7 separate regions of the Homo sapiens genome follow, and all the other regions are linked to region 7. The links are contacts of gene promoters, found by promoter capture Hi-C in blood cells and fetal thymus (Javierre and others, 2016). All regions are on one chromosome and are shown on one strand. The core of a region is centred on a gene start or on the middle of the fragment in contact, and the rest is flanking DNA. Distances in the headings are between cores, read along the strand shown. Region 1 has its middle 19 kb from the start of CTR9. Region 2 overlaps SBF2 (SET binding factor 2). Region 3 overlaps EIF4G2 (eukaryotic translation initiation factor 4 gamma 2). Region 4 overlaps SBF2 (SET binding factor 2). Region 5 overlaps SBF2 (SET binding factor 2). Region 6 overlaps SBF2 (SET binding factor 2). Region 7 holds the start of ADM (adrenomedullin).

Evidence for each region. The method cuts DNA at HindIII sites, captures the fragments that hold promoters and counts their contacts. A CHiCAGO score of 5 or more calls a contact.
Region 1: a contact is called between a fragment that was not itself captured here and the fragment with the promoter of ADM in region 7, in 8 of 17 cell types (endothelial precursors, M0 macrophages, neutrophils and 5 more). The highest score is 14.1, in endothelial precursors.
Region 2: a contact is called between a fragment that was not itself captured here and the fragment with the promoter of ADM in region 7, in 2 of 17 cell types (M0 macrophages and megakaryocytes). The highest score is 5.6, in M0 macrophages.
Region 3: a fragment that was not itself captured here is called in contact with the fragment with the promoter of ADM in region 7 in 1 of 17 cell types (neutrophils); the score reaches 5.2 in neutrophils.
Region 4: a contact is called between a fragment that was not itself captured here and the fragment with the promoter of ADM in region 7, in 1 of 17 cell types (M1 macrophages). The highest score is 5.1, in M1 macrophages.
Region 5: a contact is called between a fragment that was not itself captured here and the fragment with the promoter of ADM in region 7, in 1 of 17 cell types (M1 macrophages). The highest score is 6.0, in M1 macrophages.
Region 6: a fragment that was not itself captured here is called in contact with the fragment with the promoter of ADM in region 7 in 5 of 17 cell types (endothelial precursors, M2 macrophages, M1 macrophages and 2 more); the score reaches 8.0 in endothelial precursors.

The regions. Positions count from the first base shown.
Region 1 is chr11:10,731,332-10,734,073 of GRCh38, reverse strand. No RefSeq gene overlaps it. Among named protein-coding and RNA genes, the nearest start is that of CTR9, 19 kb to the left of the region's middle. The HindIII fragment of the contact is 7,606 bases long and covers 1-2,742 here.
Region 2 is chr11:9,826,865-9,829,646 of GRCh38, reverse strand. SBF2 (SET binding factor 2) reads left to right here. Exons shown (of 40, transcript NM_030962.4): 28 at 151-291. Among named protein-coding and RNA genes, the nearest start is that of LINC02709, 69 kb to the right of the region's middle. The HindIII fragment of the contact is 263 bases long and covers 1,300-1,562 here.
Region 3 is chr11:10,798,517-10,801,295 of GRCh38, reverse strand. EIF4G2 (eukaryotic translation initiation factor 4 gamma 2) reads left to right here. Exons shown (of 22, transcript NM_001418.4): 15 at 209-334; 16 at 461-565; 17 at 649-864; 18 at 948-1,206; 19 at 1,540-1,744; 20 at 1,872-2,083; 21 at 2,183-2,304. Among named protein-coding and RNA genes, the nearest start is that of SNORD97, 1.7 kb to the left of the region's middle. The HindIII fragment of the contact is 1,977 bases long and covers 265-2,241 here.
Region 4 is chr11:10,036,657-10,039,560 of GRCh38, reverse strand. The region is part of intron 3 of SBF2 (SET binding factor 2); the gene reads left to right. Among named protein-coding and RNA genes, the nearest start is that of SBF2, 260 kb to the left of the region's middle. The HindIII fragment of the contact is 394 bases long and covers 1,133-1,526 here.
Region 5 is chr11:9,893,332-9,896,102 of GRCh38, reverse strand. SBF2 (SET binding factor 2) reads left to right here. Exons shown (of 40, transcript NM_030962.4): 17 at 92-160. The region is part of intron 1 of LOC101928008 (a long non-coding RNA gene); the gene reads right to left. Among named protein-coding and RNA genes, the nearest start is that of LINC02709, 140 kb to the right of the region's middle. RefSeq lists enhancers at 1,459-1,959, 1,960-2,460. The HindIII fragment of the contact is 2,467 bases long and covers 189-2,655 here.
Region 6 is chr11:9,991,903-9,994,623 of GRCh38, reverse strand. SBF2 (SET binding factor 2) reads left to right here. Exons shown (of 40, transcript NM_030962.4): 10 at 626-703; 11 at 1,521-1,634; 12 at 2,081-2,209. Among named protein-coding and RNA genes, the nearest start is that of LINC02709, 230 kb to the right of the region's middle. The HindIII fragment of the contact is 4,497 bases long and covers 1-2,721 here.
Region 7 is chr11:10,303,662-10,306,361 of GRCh38, reverse strand. It overlaps ADM (adrenomedullin), which reads right to left and starts at 1,289. Exons shown (of 4, transcript NM_001124.3): 1 at 1,133-1,289; 2 at 564-682; 3 at 264-413; 4 at 1-30. The coding sequence starts at 661. It also overlaps a transcript of SBF2 not described here. RefSeq lists silencers at 698-747, 768-817, 1,498-1,547, 1,728-1,827, 2,318-2,377. The HindIII fragment of the contact is 5,037 bases long and covers 1-2,700 here.

The sequences.
Region 1 (2,742 bases), core at 196-2,695, 430 kb before region 7:
CAAAGTAACCGCATGCACCTGACACAGTTCTTGGAGCCTTATGCATATAACAGAGAAGAAGAAAATAGTATTTAAAACCATGGCCCACTGTAGCCGCTTTGCCTTAAAAAGGAAAGTGACACAATTGAAATCTGTAACAAATCTCTAAATAGATCTTGTTCCTTGCAGAGGCCAAGATGAGATTCCAGCCAATGTTTGGAAATTTCAAAGAGCAGGAAACCTAGGCTGACATGGTGGCTCTCAGGGCACAGGATTATTATTTATATATATAATATATTCAATTATATCAGTATATATTATATATATTTAAATGTATTCATTTAATGAGTGAATTAAGCACCCTAAAAAGTGAGCATTGCTTTCCCCATTTTACAGATTATGAATGAGGCTCAGAGACAGAATCACCCACTCAGCTACAAAGGGGTGGAACTGGGCTTCCAAGCCAGGGCTTCTTGGCTCTAAAGTTTGTGGTTGCCCTTCCAGAACAGAATGCCATTTGCCACCCCCATAGCGGCCTCCTGCCTGTGATTTGGTCTAGGTGGGCTTCTCGGGAAGGGACATGTTAAAGAGGTAGAAGGCAAGTTTTATTTGTATGTTTACTTAACTTCTCATGTTTAGTTAAACTTTCATGGGAGTGACAGAGGGGGGATGGGGAGAATAGAGAAACTCTTTTTTTTCTGAGACAGAGTCTCACTGTGTTGCCCAGGCTGGAGTGCAGTGGCACGATCTTGGCTCACTGCAACCTCCACCTCTGGGGTTCAGGTGATTCTTGTGCTTCAGCCTCCCGAGTAGCTGAGACTACAGGTGCAAGCCGCCACCCAGCTAATTTTGTATTTAGTAGAGATGGGGTTTTGCCATGTTGGCCAGGCTGGTCTGGAACTCCTGGGCTCAGGTCATCTGCCCACCTCTGCCTCCCAAAGTGCTGGGATTACAGGCGTGAGCCACTGCACCTGGCAGAGAAACTCTTATACCAGGATTCTGATCATGGTAGGAAGGAGAAGCCCAGTGGGCCTTGGAAAGTCAAACTCTGCTGGGGAGGCAGTGTGGCATAGTGCTGGGCACACAGGCTTAGAGCCCAGCTAGACTGAATTCAAGTCCCAGGGCCACGGTGTATTAACCGTGATCTCACACAAGTTAATAAACCTATTAAGACTTGAGTTTCTATTAACCTATTAACTTAATAGGTTAATAAACCTATTAAGACCTTAAAAATGAGACCTACCTCCTAAGGTCTTTGAGGAAATCAAACCAAAAACCACAAGTAAAGCACTTAGCATAGTGCCTAGCATCCCTCAAATGATAGCTGTCATCATACACATTAAAATACATAGTGCTTGGAAGATTCGGAGGCATTCTAAAATCCCCTCCTGGTAAACGTTGCCATGCTCATATACTACGCCATACTGAGAGGGCACGGGAAAGCAGCTCATGCACAGTGCTTTTTTCTGTTTTTGGCGCTTGGGAGCAAGCTGGTGGGAAGTGCGGTGGGCTTCGACTCGGACTACCTCTGTCATTGTCTATTGGTATGAAAGGAGAAGGACCTGCTGACTATACAAAAGACCAGTATCCATCATGGAGACATGAGGACAGAGGGATTGAAATATATTTGGTTTTTCGGTGCCAGGAAGCCTGGCACAGAAGAGCTGGTTCTCAGAGATCCGGGTGCCCCCTATCTCTGACATCTGGCCCAGAAATCAAGCTGGAGGAGGTAGGAAATCTGATCACCATGCTTGGCCAGGACCTGTTCAGAGATTGTCAAGGCTGGGATAGGGGTGCAGGTCAGGTCTGCCCTGGGAGCTGGCTAGAAGGAAGGTGAGGCAGGCAAGGCACTCGGGGCACAGCATTTGAAGAGACACTCACTCTCAGGTGCTGACCCTGCACTTGCATGGGCCAGAGAAGGAGTGTCTTCTTCAATTCTGTGTCCTGGGTACCCCCCCTTGACTCCCTAGCTAGCAGGGAGAGAGAGAGAGAGAAAGAGAGAGAGAGAGAGAAGATGCAAGGAAGATGAAAGTCATAGTCCTTTATAGCCTAATCTCAGAAGTGACACCCCATCACTTTAGTCCTATTATGTTAGAAGCAACTCACTCTGTACAGTACACACACACACACACACACACACACACACACACACATGAGGGGACACACCAAGATGTGACTGTAACTGCCTATTGGGTTCTCCTTGCCTGCTGCCTAGACAGAGCCAATTTATCAAGACAGGGAAATTGCAATAGAGAAAGAGTTTAATTCACACAGAGTCAGCTGTGTGGGAGACCAGAGTTTTATTATTACTCAAAGCTGTCTCCCTGAAAACTCGAGGATTGGGGTTCTTAATGATAATTTGCCGAGTAGGGTGTCGGGAAGTGGGGAGTGCTGATTGGTCAGGTGGGATATGAAGTCATAGGGAGTTGAAGCTGTCCTCTTGCACTGAGTCAGTTCCTGGGTAGGGGCCACATGACTGGATGAGCCAGTTTATCAATCTGGGTGGTACCAGCTCATCCTTTGAGGGCAGGGTCTGCAAAATATCTCAAACACTGATCTTAGGCTTTACAATAGTGATGTTAGCCCCAGGATGCAATTTGGGAAGGTTCAGAATCTTACAGCCTCCAGCTGCATGACTCCTAAACCACAATTTCTAATCTTGTGGCAAATTTGTTAGTCCTGCAAAGGCAGTCTAGTTCCCAGGCAGGAAGGGGGTTTGTTTTGGGAAAGGGCTGTTATCATCTTTATTTCAAAGTTAAACTA
Region 2 (2,782 bases), core at 182-2,681, 480 kb after region 7:
TGGGGCTGGTTTCTATATTTGGGTGTGGTAACTTGTAGACTATATAGAGAAAAATAAGCATAGATAGATAGGTAGATAGATAGATAGATAGATACTTGTTTTGTTAACACAGAGACAGTTTATTTTATTCAATATATTTTCCTTTTATAGCTCCTACCTCCTCTTTAGAATCTTCCAGTAGCATAGAACAAGAGAAATACTTGCAAGCCTTACTGAATGCTGTTTCTGTCCATCAGAAACTCAGAGGCAACAGCACTCTTACTGTCAGGCCAGCCTTTGCTCTATCTCCAGGTAAGATTTGATAATACTTTTCTTCTTGACAGCTTCTAATGAAAGGTCAGTTCTGTTCCTAGGGTTATTTGTACTGTTATTTGTTATTTGTACTGTTCCTTCACCAAGACTTCTTAAAAGTTTTACCCTGAAGGGTTATAAGTTTAACTCCTTTTACTTAGAAATCTACCACTATTAATGTCTAGTAAATAGTAACTTAACTTAGAGATTCAGTTTTTTCTTTTTTGTTTTATTTTCTTTTTTTTAAGAGATGGGGTCTCACTGTGTTGCCCAGTCTGGTCTCGAACTTCTGGGCTCAAGCAGTCTTCCCGCCTCAGCCTCCCAAAGTACTGAGATTACAGGTGTGAGGTGTGAGCTCAGTTATTTCCTTTTCAAAAGAGTAATTGGAGAGGAAGTGGGGAATATAAATAAAGTCACCCTTTATTCCCATATTTATCATACCCAGCTCAGTTATTTCCTTTTCAAAAGAGTAATTGGAGAGGAAGTGGGAAATATAAATAAAGTCACCCTTTATTCCCATATTTATCTTTCATAGACTTTAAAATATTCTTATGACATGGAATATGTAAGTGGAACATGTTTGTTAAATGTGTATTTATTAAAATCATCATTTATAAGTTTGAAATTCCCAAAATATCTGCAGCCTATTATGATTTTCAGTACAATTTGTTTTCACTGGATTTGGATGAAGCCATTAAGACTTGTACTAATATTCTGTTTCAGTTATCATGTGATGGAACCCCAAAGGGTTCATGTAGAGGTAACCCTAATGTGTTAGACACAGGAGCATGTGACTTGAGAAGTTGGTCTCTTTGGCTTAATCAGCTATTTGAATTAGCTCAACATAAGCAGAAAGTGGCTTTTCTTGTAAAATAACACCATGCATGCCTTGCTCCATTTATCATTAAATTCTCTGATTGCACTTGCCAAACCTAACTCTCTATAATCTTGCAAATGTGTGTTATCTCTGATTAATAATAACATTGCCTTGTTATCTCTAATAAAGCTTTGGGTACTTAAAAGTACAATGTTTGGCAGCAGTTAAACATGCTACACCTGAAGATAACTTTTTGTCATTTGAGTAATGTTAACCCAAACAACATGGTTTTTGTTCTTCTTTTTGGCTGACTTTAGGGACTGAAAGGAGGACTTCAAGAATGTCCACTGTGCTTAAGCAGGTAGTGCCAGGACATTTGGATGTAAACCCATCCAATAGCTTTGCTCAAGGAGGTTAGTAAGATTGATTTTATAACTGAGCACTGATGCAAGCTTAAAAGCAGAAAGCATTTTTCTAGATAGTTGATATTTTAAATCAATTAATTATGATTCAAATTGTTCTTAATTACCCTCTTCTGAATGAATGGTCAAATGTATTACTAGCATGATGACAGATGAGCTTAGCCTTGTGGGACAAGAAGTATAATAATTGCTGATGTCATATATATTGATAAGTTTGGGAGCATTAAGAGGTAAGGGGAGCATGTCTAAATGATGAGTCAGCCCTGGGAGTACTCCCTGATACTCCAGATTTGCAGGGCAGAAAGACCAATCTATCACAGAAGTATAGATAGTTAAGGAGAAGTGATTCCAGATCGAAGGAACTCCAAGTCCTGTTATTTTTGCTCCTGTCCTCTGAAATACTGGTTTGGAGGATAAGACATCATGATATCCAGGTAGCTGCTGACATGAGGAAATAGAGAAAGGCTAAGTATTCATTCTTTTAAGCTCCAAAAGGTCATCCACTTTGTTCTCTGGAAGTTTATGTGAGATTCTTTTCACTCTGCAGAGGAAATTCCAGACCAGATTCTTTTTTTTTTTTTTTTAAGACAGAGTCTTACTTTGTTGCCCAGGCTGGAGTGCAGTGGAACTGTCATAGCTAACTAACTGCAGCCTCCAACTCCTGGGCTTGAGCAATCCTCCTGCCTCAAGCTCCCAAGGAGCTAAGACTACAGGTGTGTGCCACCACTCCCAGCTAAATTTTTAAAATATTTTTTGGGACAGAGTCTTACTATGTTGCCCAGGCTGGTCTTGAACTCCTGGCCTGAAGCAGTCCTCCCACCTGGGCTTCCCAAAGTGCTGGGATTACAGGCGTGAGAAAGCACCTGGCCCCAGATATCTCAACTGTGAAGTCCCACTGTCTCACAATGGAGTCACAGAATCTTAGACTCTTCCTCTCACCCCCATATAATGATGAATTCCCTTAAAAAGATACTAAGTAGGCCGGGCACGGTGGCTCACGCCTATAATCCCAGCACTTTGGGAGGCTGAGGCAAGCAGATCACCTGAGGTCAGGAATTCCAGACCAGCCTGGCCAACATGGTGAAACCCTGTCTCTACTAAAAATACTAAAATTAGCCAGGCGTGGTGGTGCACACCTGTAGTCTCAGCTACTCAGGAGGCTGAGACAGGAGAATCAGTTGAACCCGGGAGGCAGAGGTTGCATAGACCGGGAGGCAGAGGTTGCATAGAGCCAAGATCGCACCATTGCTGG
Region 3 (2,779 bases), core at 4-2,503, 490 kb before region 7:
TTATAATAGTATCTTACTACTGTATGCATCAGATCTTTAAATTTTTTGCCAAAAATTAAACCTGTTAATGTGGAGTACCTTCTTTAGTTTTTCAAAAAGCTTAATGTTTCCCTAGATTCTGTCACTGTATAGGATTTTAGAATGTTGTATTTAATATGTTCGCCAACTGCATGTTGTTAATTTAGATATATTTTGTTTTCAATTCCAGATTAGCCTGAGGCCTGCTCAGTCGTTCCTAATGAATAAAAATCAAGTGCCAAAGCTTCAGCCCCAGATAACTATGATTCCTCCTAGTGCACAACCACCACGCACTCAAACACCACCTCTGGGACAGGTACAGACCATAGTAGGACAGCATTTTCTAAAGATATCTGAAGACTTTTTTCTAAATTTAGTGTGTTCTTCCCCCTAATTTCATAGTCCTCTTTTTAAAAAAAGTCTGTCATTGCTTGTTTTTTAGACACCTCAGCTTGGTCTCAAAACTAATCCACCGCTTATCCAGGAAAAGCCTGCCAAGACCAGCAAAAAGCCACCACCGTCAAAGGAAGAACTCCTTAAACTAACTGTAAGTTTCAAATATCCCATTTTAGTGTAATTAGCCTGTATTTGAGATAGAGAATACATTAAAGATACTTGTGTTCTTCACAGGAAACTGTTGTGACTGAATATCTAAATAGTGGAAATGCAAATGAGGCTGTCAATGGTGTAAGAGAAATGAGGGCTCCTAAACACTTTCTTCCTGAGATGTTAAGCAAAGTAATCATCCTGTCACTAGATAGAAGCGATGAAGATAAAGAAAAAGCAAGTTCTTTGATCAGTTTACTCAAACAGGAAGGGATAGCCACAAGTGACAACTTCATGCAGGTAGGACACTTTACTGATTGTGTGGTAAGAACTCTTACCACTCAAATTCGAAAACTGATAAACTGTTGTATATTTCTTTCAAGGCTTTCCTGAATGTATTGGACCAGTGTCCCAAACTGGAGGTTGACATCCCTTTGGTGAAATCCTATTTAGCACAGTTTGCAGCTCGTGCCATCATTTCAGAGCTGGTGAGCATTTCAGAACTAGCTCAACCACTAGAAAGTGGCACCCATTTTCCTCTCTTCCTACTTTGTCTTCAGCAGTTAGCTAAATTACAAGATCGAGAATGGTTAACAGAACTTTTTCAACAAAGCAAGGTCAATATGCAGAAAATGCTCCCAGGTAAGAGAATGCTGACTTGTTTGTTTTGTTTTTTTAATATTATATCTAGAGATTTCAGGTACCTTGAGTGGATTTATGTAGGTCAGACAGTCTGATTGTCCTGCTCAGATAATGATAAACATTACCACAGATCTCACCTATAAAGAGAGATTTATAATTTAACTACTTTCATTTGATCCGTATGTTGAGTTTTTTTCATTTGCTGGGTTGGTTCTCTATTCTGCTACATGGATCTTACATACTTGGGGACATCATTTGTGAAGCTCTGCTCTCTGGACAGGACAACTTGGTAAAATGAACTATTAGATGATGCAGGTGGCTTTGTCTCTTCAGAAATTGATCAGAATAAGGACCGCATGTTGGAGATTTTGGAAGGAAAGGGACTGAGTTTCTTATTCCCACTCCTCAAATTGGAGAAGGAACTGTTGAAGCAAATAAAGTTGGATCCATCCCCTCAAACCATATATAAATGGATTAAAGATAACATCTCTCCCAAACTTCATGTAGATAAAGGATTTGTGAACATCTTAATGACTAGGTAAGACGAATGGTTTTCTGCATATGGTAATGTTTCATGTACTGGAAAAGAAGCGTAGGAGACTAAGAGTTGTCTCTTGAGCAAGAAAACTCACTGTTGGGTTCTAACAAGACCTCTTTCTGTCCAGCTTCTTACAGTACATTTCTAGTGAAGTAAACCCCCCCAGCGATGAAACAGATTCATCCTCTGCTCCTTCCAAAGAACAGTTAGAGCAGGAAAAACAACTACTACTATCTTTCAAGCCAGTAATGCAGAAATTTCTTCATGATCACGTTGATCTACAAGTCAGTGCCCTGTATGCTCTCCAGGTGCACTGCTATAACAGCAACTTCCCAAAAGGTGAGAGGACTTGTATCAGAAGAACGGCGTGAGGAAGTTCTTAAACAGAACACTAAATAATGGGCTTATTACTTTTTTCTTTTTTTTTTTTTTTTTAAGGCATGTTACTTCGCTTTTTTGTGCACTTCTATGACATGGAAATTATTGAAGAAGAAGCTTTCTTGGCTTGGAAAGAAGATATAACCCAAGAGTTTCCGGGAAAAGGCAAGGCTTTGTTCCAGGTAAGTCTTTTGTTAAAAATTTGGTCTGCTTACTTCAGTTTGCTTGGTATTAACTTCAAGTTAAGAGCCTTTTTCAACTGAAATACAGGCAAGGTAGTCCTAGTTAGTAGTTTGTCTTCACCTGTACATTTCATTCTGCACTATTTGAAGCTATTATTAAGTAAAGCTACACAATGAATCAATTCTAGTGGTGTATAAGATGTTAGAGGTAGCTAACTTTTCAAGGAGTATAGCTACTTATATACATGGGAGTGACTGTACAAGTTTCGATTTAAGCTTTTTTAAAAACATCAGTAAAGAGGAAATTGTAGCTGGGCACGTGGCTCATGCCTGTAATCCTAGCACTTTAAGAGGCTGAGGTGGGAGGATCACTTGAGCTCAGGAGTTCAAGACCAGCCTGGGCAGCATAGTGAAACCCTGTCTCTAAAAAATACAAAAAATTAGCCAGACGTGGTGACATGTTCTGTGGTCCTGG
Region 4 (2,904 bases), core at 80-2,579, 270 kb after region 7:
ATCACCTTACAAAAGGTTACAGTCTGCTTCATATCAGTTTTTCCAAGATTTTGAAAATGCGGATAGGTTGTGAGAATTCCGGATTCTATATAATTGTACTTAGGTACTAGCCAGAATTGTAAGACCACTTTTCTGGAAACATAAGTTAATGTCTTTTGGGCTTGGTGGAAAAGAGGGATAAACAATGAAGCAGAATTTGAAAAAAAAATAGAACCCAGAAGATGTTTCTTTCTTGTCATCAGTAAAGTTGTTTTCATTTTTGGCATGAACTGTTTATGTCCCTTTAAAAATGTGTTTTTCTTTTCTTTTTGGATCATATCATCAGTTCAAAATAGATCTTTTAATTCTTTTTTGGTGTGAATTACTTCATACCAAATATACTATGACACATTATTTGGAAGCCTAAAGAGGGGGAACTTAGGGACATACACCATCCAGAATGTGATTGTGCAACTTTAAAAATGTTAGCTCTGTTATCTTTCCAAGATACAGTAACACTGTCAGTAATCATAAGCAAAACTTGGCATTAAACTTTTGATAATATGTTCCCAAAATTACTCAACTAGGTAATGTGATCCTAAATTTTTTTAAGTAATCAGCAAAATATGATAGATTTACATTGACTTTTATTACTTATCTAAATAATCATTTGATTATCTTAAAATATGTTAAAAGTATAAAATTTTAAATATCTAAAATTTAAATTTAGTTCTATATCTTTTTAAAGTTATTTCATATGTTTATATACTTGTCTCTGAATCAGTGGTAATTATGCAGTTCTCAGTGAGAACATTTGGTGTGTCATCAAATTGTCATCAAAGAAAGAGAGAGGGAATGAATTTTGTAATTTCGAGAGATAAGAGGAGGAAAAAAGAGGGAGAGACATAGAAGACATAAGATACGTTTCTCCATCACAGTGGGCTTCAAATCTAGCTTGGGAAGCAGAACCAAAACTTAAGTACAAAACCATTCCAAAGTATCATATGCTAAGTATCATTCAGTGAAACAGATAATAATTGCAGACTAGGCAACTGGAATAAATCATACAGAGTTTAAAAGACTCAGTGGACATTTTAATAAGAGCTAACACCTAGAGTAAGGGAAAGAAAAAGGACAATTCAAACAAAAAGCTTGTGCAAAGGAAAAAAGATTGTAGTGCTTATGATAAATTAAAGTCTTATGTTCTGGGTACTGTGCTAAAAGTTTTACAACACTTTATTTCATTCTATTTTATTTAACTCACATATAGTTTATTCTCACAAAACACCATTTGATAGGTTTTAACATTTCCATTTTACAGATGAGGCTTACTTAGGGACATTCAGTACCAAGTTAAAGTGCTTGATTGATTCTGTCTCCAAGGACCAAATAATAACCACATATACTACAAAGCTGCAAAAATTGTATCAGTGTGCTATAGGTTCAAGAATTAAGTGTCAAGGGTAAAAACAATTATGGGAACAAAACCAATACTCCAGAAGCAGACCCTATTGTGTATAGGAGATCAGTGTCCAACAATAGAAGCTTTATAAATCAATGGAATGTGTGTATTTCAACAAATATTATTTAAACAGTTGATGAGCTATTTGAGAAAAGAAAAAAATTTAAACATAGTATCATATAATTAATTCCAAGCAGTTAAGTAATTACCTGGAAAATGGAGTAATAAAAAGGAATTTATAAATTCGTCTCTAGATGGTATAAAACAGTGGAGAAAACCACACACAAAACAGTGTATAGATTTAGCTGAAGTACTACAACCCAATCATTTTTGGTACTCCCCCACCCCCACCATCCCGCTCTTTATCATAGTAAACTATGCTCATTGTAGAAGACATAGAGAGAACATGCAGGAAAAAATTTGAGAGAACAGAAAAAGATGGTTTGACATATTTTCTTCCAATAATAAGGATTTTTTTTTTTTAACAAAAGTTGCTGTACACTAGTTGACCATATAGGTAGGTTTAATTAATCCCCTGATGGACATGTATTTCCTGTTTTGTCAATATTATGAATAACTGTGATGAATATCTCATTGGAAAAACCTTAGTTCCTTCAAGAAGGGTTTAGTCCCAGGTAATCCAACTCTTTGAACTAAAAATTCGAAATAGCAGTATTTGGGAATTGGGCTTGCTGATATTGTAATCAACTTTACACTTGGTAGCATTCTAGAGACTAATTCTTAGGTCTTATTCAACAAGACTAGACTTTGTTAGAGTCTGGTGAAAACTAGCATGCGTAACATAATTCACACAGAGAAAAAATTGGGAGACTTGTGTATTCTGAGTTTATTCTATAGTTTGATAATTTACAACTTTGCAAGTATCCACATGGGATTCTCCTTAGAGTATCGATGCTGAAGATTATGTCTTTTACCAAAGAATCTGTCTTCTCCTCCCCTTTTGAAAATGAGAATTGGCAAATGGACAGAATGCTGAATCTTAACAGTCCCCTTGATGTCCCTCACAGATGTATTTTGTAGGGAAAAACTGTCACTGGATTAACTATGATTAATTGGTGCAACATGCTTAAAATGATATAAGACTTTAAAACAACAGGAGAAACTTTTGGGATTAAGTTTCCAGAATCCTTCAACATCAAATACCTTTTCTTAAATTTTGACAACTATTTCAGGCTAGGAAGGGCTGCAGTGAGAACTGTGTATTGTTACTATTTCATTTTAAAACAAAAATTACTACATTCAAATATAATTAAAGGAAAACAAACCTGAACATCTTTTCAAATTGACAGTTTGGCGTCTCAGATGTTATCTTTCCTAAACAGCTTATTTTAACTAATATGTTATTTCTTATAAAGGTTACATATAAGAGTATAGGATACTGGAAAGAGAAGTAGCTTAAGAGAAGACTTGGCTTGTTAATCCCACTTATGCCTTTAATGATC
Region 5 (2,771 bases), core at 173-2,672, 410 kb after region 7:
CAGTAAACAGTGTATCCCAGATGTTAGTTCGCATGTATTTGTGATTTCTGGTAAATATCCTAATGCTCTTTTGTCTTTGTTTTGCTTAAAGGATTGTTCAAGTTTAGAAGAATACAACATTGCCGCAGCATTACTCCCTTTGACCAGTGCTTTCTATAGGGTAAGTTTCATTGGTCCATATATAAGCTTGTTATGATTTACATAAATGTATTCAGTTTGATTTATTATGGAACTACATGAAAATCCTGTCCTCTTAGTAGCATGCCTAAGATATATCTGCGGTTATATTTATTATAACATTTATTGCATGCTATGTGTAGGAAATTTAATATAGAACACTAAATCATCTCCTAAAATACCACCCACACCCGTTACATCCTTTTCCTTAATTTTCTTTATAGTACTTCATAACACCTGAATTTATGTTGCATATTGGTTTGTTTACATGTTTTTTCCCCATCACAGAAAGTAAATTTCATGAGGCTGGAATATTGTCTGTCCTCTTTACTGCTATGTCCCAGGGCCACTCAGTAAATATTTATTGAATGAATGACATTGAAGCCAGAAATTAGAGTTTAACTTTACTGGTAATTTCTGCGAACCTTCTGAGAACTTTCTGGAATGTTCACAGTGATTTTTTAAAATTCTGTCACTTACTACAGTTATATCTATGCTTTTTCATAAATAGATTCATTCTTATGGCAGAAAAAACCAGCAAATTTCTTTTCCCGTGAAGGACTTGTAAAGAATTAGATAACCACCCACACTCAGAACAATGCATTTAATACATCCTTCTGAAATATGCAATCATAAACAGTAAATCTGTGGTAGCAGCTGACTTACTATTCAGCTACATGCACAGTCAGCTTCAGGAAGCAATAAGTTAACAAGTTTGGTAACTGCCATACTGTTTCTCTGTGTTAGCAGATTAATCATACATAGGTTTTAGTGGTGGGCTTAGATTTGATTTTTTGTGGTTGGCATGGTTTGTTGTTGGATGAGTTTGTTTTGGGTTATTTTGGTTTAGGGATGAATCAGTCAAGGTCTAGTCAGGAGCCAGAAACCACACCAGTAATTTGAACAGAGAAATTTTGTTTTATTTTTATTTATTTATTTATTGAGACAGAGTTTTAGCTCTTGTTGCCCAGGCTAGAGTGCAATGGCTCAATCTCGGCTCATTGCAACCTCCTCCTCCCATGTTCAAGTGATTCTCCTGCCTCAGTTGCCCAAGTGGCTGGGGTTATAGGCATGTACCACCACACTTGGCTGAGTTTTTGTATTTTTAGTAGAAATGGGGTTTCACCATGTTGGTCAGGCTGGTCTCAAACTCCTGACCTCAGGTGATCCACCTGCCTCGGCCTCCCAAAGTGCTGGGATTACAGGCATGAGCTACTGCGCCTGGCCTATTTTTATTTTTTTGAGGCAGTGTTTCACTCTGTTGCCCAGGCTGTAGTGCAGTGGCACAATCTTAGCTCCCTACAGCCTCTGCCTCCTGGGCTCAAGTGATCCTCCCATCTCAGCCTCCCAAGTAGCTGGAACTACAGGCACACACCACCACACCCAGCTAATTTTTTTTTTCTTTTTTTGTGACAGGGTCTCGCTCTGTCGCCCAGGCTAGAGTGTAGTGGCGCGATTTCAGCTCGCTGCAACCTCCACCTCCCAGGTTCAAGTGATTCTCCTGCCTCAGCCTCCCGAGTAGGTGGGACTACAGGCACGTGCCACCACACCCAGCTAATTTTTGTGTTTTTAGTAGAGACAGGGTTTCACCGTGTTGGCCAGAATGGTCTTGATCTCCTGACCTTGTGATCCGCCTGCCTTGGCCTCCCAAAGTGCTGGGATTACAGGTGTGAACCACCATGTCCAGCAGATTTTTTGTATTTTTTTGTAGAGACAGAGTTTCACCATGTTGCCCAGGCTGGTCTAAAATTCCTAGACTCAAGCTGTCTGCCCACCTTGGCCTCCCAAAGTGCTGCAATTACAGGGGTGAGCCACCACGCCTGGCTGATTTTTGTATTTTTTTGTAGAGACAGAGTTTCATCATGTTGCCCAGGCTGGTCTCAAATTCCTAGACTCAAGCTGTCTGCCCACTTTGGCCTCACAAAGTGCTGCGATTACAGTGGTGAGCCACCACGCCTGACCAGAAATTTTAATATAAGGAGTTATTAAGTAGTAATAGGGGATTAACTACTAAGAGGTAAAGAGAATTCGTAAGAATGCAGGAATAAAATATAGGGAGCAACTACTACCTCTAGGGCTCAGGCATACTACCTAACAAAGAAGCAAACTTGGAAGAGAGCCCCTTCCCAGATCTAGGCTGATTCAGATCATGTTGGAGAGGTGTTGTGGCCACTGGATGGCATCGAATTTCAAGAGACCAGAACTGGCAAGCAGTAAACTGCCTGCTGGAGTGCTGGCAAGACTTGCTAGGAAGCCCCCCACTAGGATGGCCGTGAAACTTCTAGGGTGCTAGTGAAACTTGATAGGAAGCTACCACCTGGGGTACCACTGAAACTTTATAGATAGCACTGCCACTGTGGTCCCACACACCACCATTAGGTGCTTACCACAGGAGCAAGAAGGAGAAAGTACACCAGAACTAGGAAGAGAATACACTTTCTACTGCAGTGTTCCTTCAGCACCTTTACTGGCAAAGCTTAATATTCTGCATTTTGGCAAAGGAGAAATGTTTATAAGGGCCAGTTCCAGTATCACAAAGCAAGACAGAGAAGGATAGATTTGGAAGAAAGAAGTACTGCATTGATAACAGAGGG
Region 6 (2,721 bases), core at 78-2,577, 310 kb after region 7:
AGTGTATTTTTTTCAGAACTTTTCATTTTCATATATATATATATATGTACATATATAGATTTAGGGTTTATTTTGTTTTATTTTCAAATAAATTAGGCCATACTATGTGTATTTTTCTAGAACATGTTTTCTTTTCTTTTTTTTTTTTTGAGATGGAGTCTCGCTCTGTCGCCCAGGCTGGAGTGCAGTGGCGCAATCTCGGCTCACTGCAAGCTCCGCCTCCCGGGTTCACGCCATTCTCCTGCCTCAGCCTCCCAAGTAGCTGGGACTACAGGCGCCCACCACCACGCCCGGCTAATTTTTTTGTATTTTTAGTAGAGATGGGGTTTCACCGTGTTAGCCAGGATGGTCTCGATCTCCTGACCTCGTGATCTGCCTGCCTCAGCCTCCCAAAGTGCTGGGATTACAGGCGTGAGCCACCGCGCCCGGCCGAACATGTTTCAACTGAATATTTTGTCTTGGAGATCTTTCTACAATAGTACATATAGAACTACCCCAGCTAATTGAATTGTATTCATGGAGGGAATATATTATAATTCATATGCTGACATTTTCATCTTAATGTCTCAATAATAGATTTCATTGATATTATGATATTTTACATAACAAAACTTTTTTGCTTTAGATTTTACACCCAGATTTGGAAGTAGCAGATCATGCTTTTCCTCCTCCACGAACAGCTTTATCCCACTCAAAAATGCTGGTAAGAAGTTTAATATTTAAATTTAATGCTGTTAAAGAGAGCTGTATTTTTATTTATAGGGTTGTTAAAGAAGCTAAGTGAAGTTAGAGTTAGATGGACAGCAGAGTAAAAAGTGCCCCAAATTAGAAATTAGGATACTTGCCGCTGACTGTCCTTATGTCCTGCTCAAGGAGGAGCCACAGGGAAGTTCACTGGGCAAGAGGCCACTAGGGCTAAGACTGTTGCCCTGAGGAGGCATGAGTTAAGTGTAGGACAGAAAATCAGAGCCTAGATTATAGCCTGGAAAACTGTGCCAAGCATCAAATTGAAATGGCCACACAAGGATTCAAAACAAAAGAGATGCTTACAAGAATGGATATAAAGAATGTTGGTTATAGGAGAGAATCAAGTTTGAAGAGTCTGTGGATGAAAATAGTTTCAATTAGAAGCCATAAAAGGTTACGTATATAACAGAGGCCCCTTTTTTATTTTGCTCAGTGCATTTCTTAGCAGTGGGCTTTGTAGCCAATAAGGAACCTCAGGGAGCTGAACACATATACTTAAGCATTCTTGACCTTCATTTCCTGATCAATTAAGTAAGGCATTGACTAACAGAATCTGTAAGTTTCCTTACAGTTCTAAACTGTGATTCCAATAAAAGCTGGATTAAATACAATCTTGAGAGTTTTTTCTTCTTATGTTTGGTTGTGACTGTAATTGTTTTGGTGGATATAAAAATCAAAGGACTTGGAATATATGCCCTTTTCACCTTTTTGACTTGATATTTCATTTGTTTTTAAAAAGTTAAATTACCTAACATTTCTTCTTATATTTTTAGGATAAAGAGGTGCGAGCCGTTTTCCTTAGATTATTTGCACAACTCTTCCAAGGATATAGATCCTGCCTGCAACTTATAAGAATTCATGCAGAGCCAGTAATACATTTCCACAAGGTAAGATAGAGTACTATATTGTATCTGTCCAAAAAATATATTCTAATTTAATAAAACTACTTGGTTTTTTTTCCGAGCCATTTATTTTGACCTTGATTTATCAAATGTGATTATTTAAAATCTCTGTGTGGTTAGATATCAGTTCTTAATAATAATATGGAACTCATAATATCTTAGAATATGTTAACTTTAAATCAATTTTTCTTTTAAAATTGAATGTTAATTTCTGATTTCTTCTCCTGACATGTAGACAGATTCATTTTTATTCTTTTCAATATATGTAGTATTTCAGAATAACTCTCTTTGAGAGAAATATATTTTATGACAGCATATATTTATACATGAAGGGATTTATATAGGCTTTGATCTTTTTATTGTATTTCTGTTTTGACCATTTGTCCGTTACCAAGTGATAAATTATTATTTCACATTTTCTTTTTTCACAGACAGCATTCTTGGGGCAGCGTGGTTTGGTCGAGAATGATTTCCTCACTAAAGTACTCAGTGGAATGGCATTTGCAGGTTTTGTTTCAGAAAGAGGTCCTCCTTATAGATCTTGTGATCTCTTTGATGAGGTATAGCTCTTATTAAATGAAGGCATTATTTATAGACATAATTAGACTAGTAGTTAAAAGTAAAAAGTAACATTTTCCATATTTATATAGTCAAATATAAATTAGGTATTAAATAATCCCAATGTTATTTATTATGCTTATCAAATCTCGATATTTTAATGTGGATTATAAAAATTACAAAAAATTATAAGATGCCTTGGAAATACATATAATTTTTGAACAACTGAATTTTAAATAATTGAACAATGTATACTACTCAGGTGATGAGTGCACTAAAATCTCAGAATTCGCCACTATGTAATTCATCCATGTAACCGAAAACCACTCATACTCCAAAAGCTACTCATATTTTAAAATATTACATTTTAAAAAATGGTTGTTTAAAATATTTTTGAAAATTTAATAGTGATTGTATAAATAGAAGTCTTATTTTTAAAGGCCCTAATACAGTAATTCTTTTGTCAGTGTTTTAGGGAGAAAGGTCTAATTTGAAGCTAAGATAGCTGAAATTA
Region 7 (2,700 bases), core at 40-2,539:
TTGACTCGGATGCGGGCGGCATCCGGACTGCTGCGGGCGGGGGGAGGGGGAAGAAAGGCAACTTGAGACCCCATCAAGCAGAGCTTTGGCCCCAACACCGGGAACGGGAGCCATTCTAGAGCCAGAGGGAGCTGGAAACTGCTCGCGCCATCTGAGCTGCGGTCCAGCCCCGACGATCCCCCGGGCCAGGGGAGTGGAGACAGAGAACTCCTCCCGCACACCTTCCTTCCCTCCCGTCCCTGGACAGCACAGGGCGTAGTTACCTGTCTTCGGGGCTTCGAGAGGCACCCTTCATGTCCTGGGGCCGAATAAGGGTCTGGGCAGGCCCGGCCTTCACGTCAGCGAGCCCGGTGGGGTAGCTGCTGGACATCCGCAGTTCCCTCTTCCCACGACTCAGAGCCCACTTATTCCACCTGGAAAACACAAGCAGACCCGATTCGCGTGCGTTCAGGTGACGCCCAGGCCTGTCCCTGCTCCCATTCACTTCTAGACCTTCGGGACCAACGGTCAGTTCCCCTTGCCTGCCAGGTACCAGCAAGGGGGAAGGCGCTGCCCGGACTCACTTCTTTCGAAACTCCGACGCGACATCCAACCGAGCGGTGTCAGCGCCTAGGAAGGCGAGCGAACCCAGGTACATCAGGGCGACGGAAACCAGCTTCATCCCGGCTGCGAAGCGCAGACCCTGGAAAAGAAGAAAGAGAGTCGAGCGTGAGCACCCGGGCCAGCTGCACCGCCCGGGCGGGGCACGGAGGGCGGGCAGGGGCCCCGGCGAGGCGGGTTTAGCCCGCGCTTTCCCTGGCTCAGACGCTTATCTCCCTCCGCGCAGAGAGGCGCCAGAGGCGTTTGCACGCGCCGGCCGGGTGACAGGCCCCGCAGGGGAGGCCGCTGCACCCCGCCAGGCTCCCAGAGGGTCTCTGCTCAACTTCTTGGAACTTGGCTGACGGAGCAGAGGGGACTGGGTCTCTGGACCTCCAGCTGTGTGCACGAGCTGGGCCCAGGATATGGGGTGTATCTATCTCTCAGAGAACCCTCCAAAGTGGGTTGTTCCCCTCACCCAGCGCTCCCAGTTTAGGGCCTTGGCAAGCACTGCCCCCCACCCCACCTCTTAACCCGCAGGGTCTGCGGCACCTACCTGCTAAGAGAGTGATCTGCCAAGTACTTGAAGGAGAAAGTCTCAGACGTCCCACTGGCAATGGCAAAACTCCGAAGTCCAAGCCCAGCTGCAGTGAGAAGCCCGAAGTGGCAAGGCTTGAGCTGTTCTATCCAGTGTCACCAAGAAACCACTGAGTGGCCAGCTCTGGTTCCTGTGCTTTATAAGCGCACGGGTGGGGGAGCGGCGGGGCGGGGCCTGGGCTGCCCGGTTGCCTTCCCTTTCTTTCCTCAGCCACGCGCGCTCCTGCTCTCGGACGCGCGCATTGCTTCCTTTGGGGCTGGAGTTGGGATGGGGGGAGGGGGGAGCGGGGGAGAGGAGGTCCCTCGTGCCCAGAGGGCTTAGGTATGGGCTCCAGGCGGTTGGTGCAGGAACTGCCACAGCCCTCTTTGGGCACAGGGTTCAGACAGTACGCCGGAGCGAAGGGGCGCCACTACAACCTCTTGAGGTCCTTATCCAGGACCCATGCGGCCCGGAGTGCAAAGCCTCCTGGCGAAGAACAGCAAGAGCCCGCGGAAGGGACAGCGCGGATGGCCCGAGCCCTGGACCTGGGGAGCTGTGGCCTCAAGTGGACCGCGCCCCCCTGCCGGCTTGGCGCCTGACCGGGCCGCGACCCCAGACTCCCGCGGAGGGGCCGGGGCAGGGACGGAGCAAAGCCGAGAGGAGCAGGACTCACTAGTCCCCCAGAGGACCAAGACCCCGGCGTTTCGGGGTGAGCTAGTAAGATTTCACGGTAGGGACAAGGCTCAGAAAAGCTAAATTGAGAATTGGGATTTGGAGGGGGGAATTATCTGAAATTTCAGAATTTTCATTTCTATTTGGAAACATAGGAATAACCAAAATTAGGAGGAAATATACTGTTTCATTTTGCCTCCTTGTAATCCTATTATGCCTTATAAGGTCATAACCTGAGATTGTGCCTGGCTGCCTTCATTAATCCATCGTAAACGTGAGGACTGACTGCCAGGGAGCACACTAACGCTTCACGTATGCTAATCATTTTACAGTTTACCAAGCACGGCCACATCCCAGTCTACTTTGAGCTTCACAGCCACCCTTGAGTCAGGCAAGGAAGGTAACATTCCTTTTCCCATTTCAGCAGGTAGAAAATTCAAGCTCAGAGAGGGGAGGTATCTGCAGAGAGGGGAAGTCACCCTGCAGGTAGGAAGCAGCAGAGTCCCTACTCGGCCCGACACGCTAGCACGGCCGACTGGGGCGCGGCGTGGATTCCTCTAGGCTGGGGTCACCAACTTCTCAAGGGGCAAAGGAGAGTCCTAGCCCCCGCCCAAAGAATTTGTGCCTGTTCATGATGAATCACGCTAGACACGTTTGTCACCCGTTTGTGCTCTTTCATCACAGCTTCTTCTCTTTCTTACTTCTCTCCTGGGGGCCAAACTGGGAAGGAAAGGCTAAGCCACGGGGCTTCCTGCTTCGTGCTTGTGGGTTTCTGGGGTCCTACTAACCACTCCTCTAATCGAATGTCCTGAAGCCCAGCGACTCGACGGAGAGGCCAAAGGTGCGAGACCACTAGCCAAACAGGCTTCTAGTCC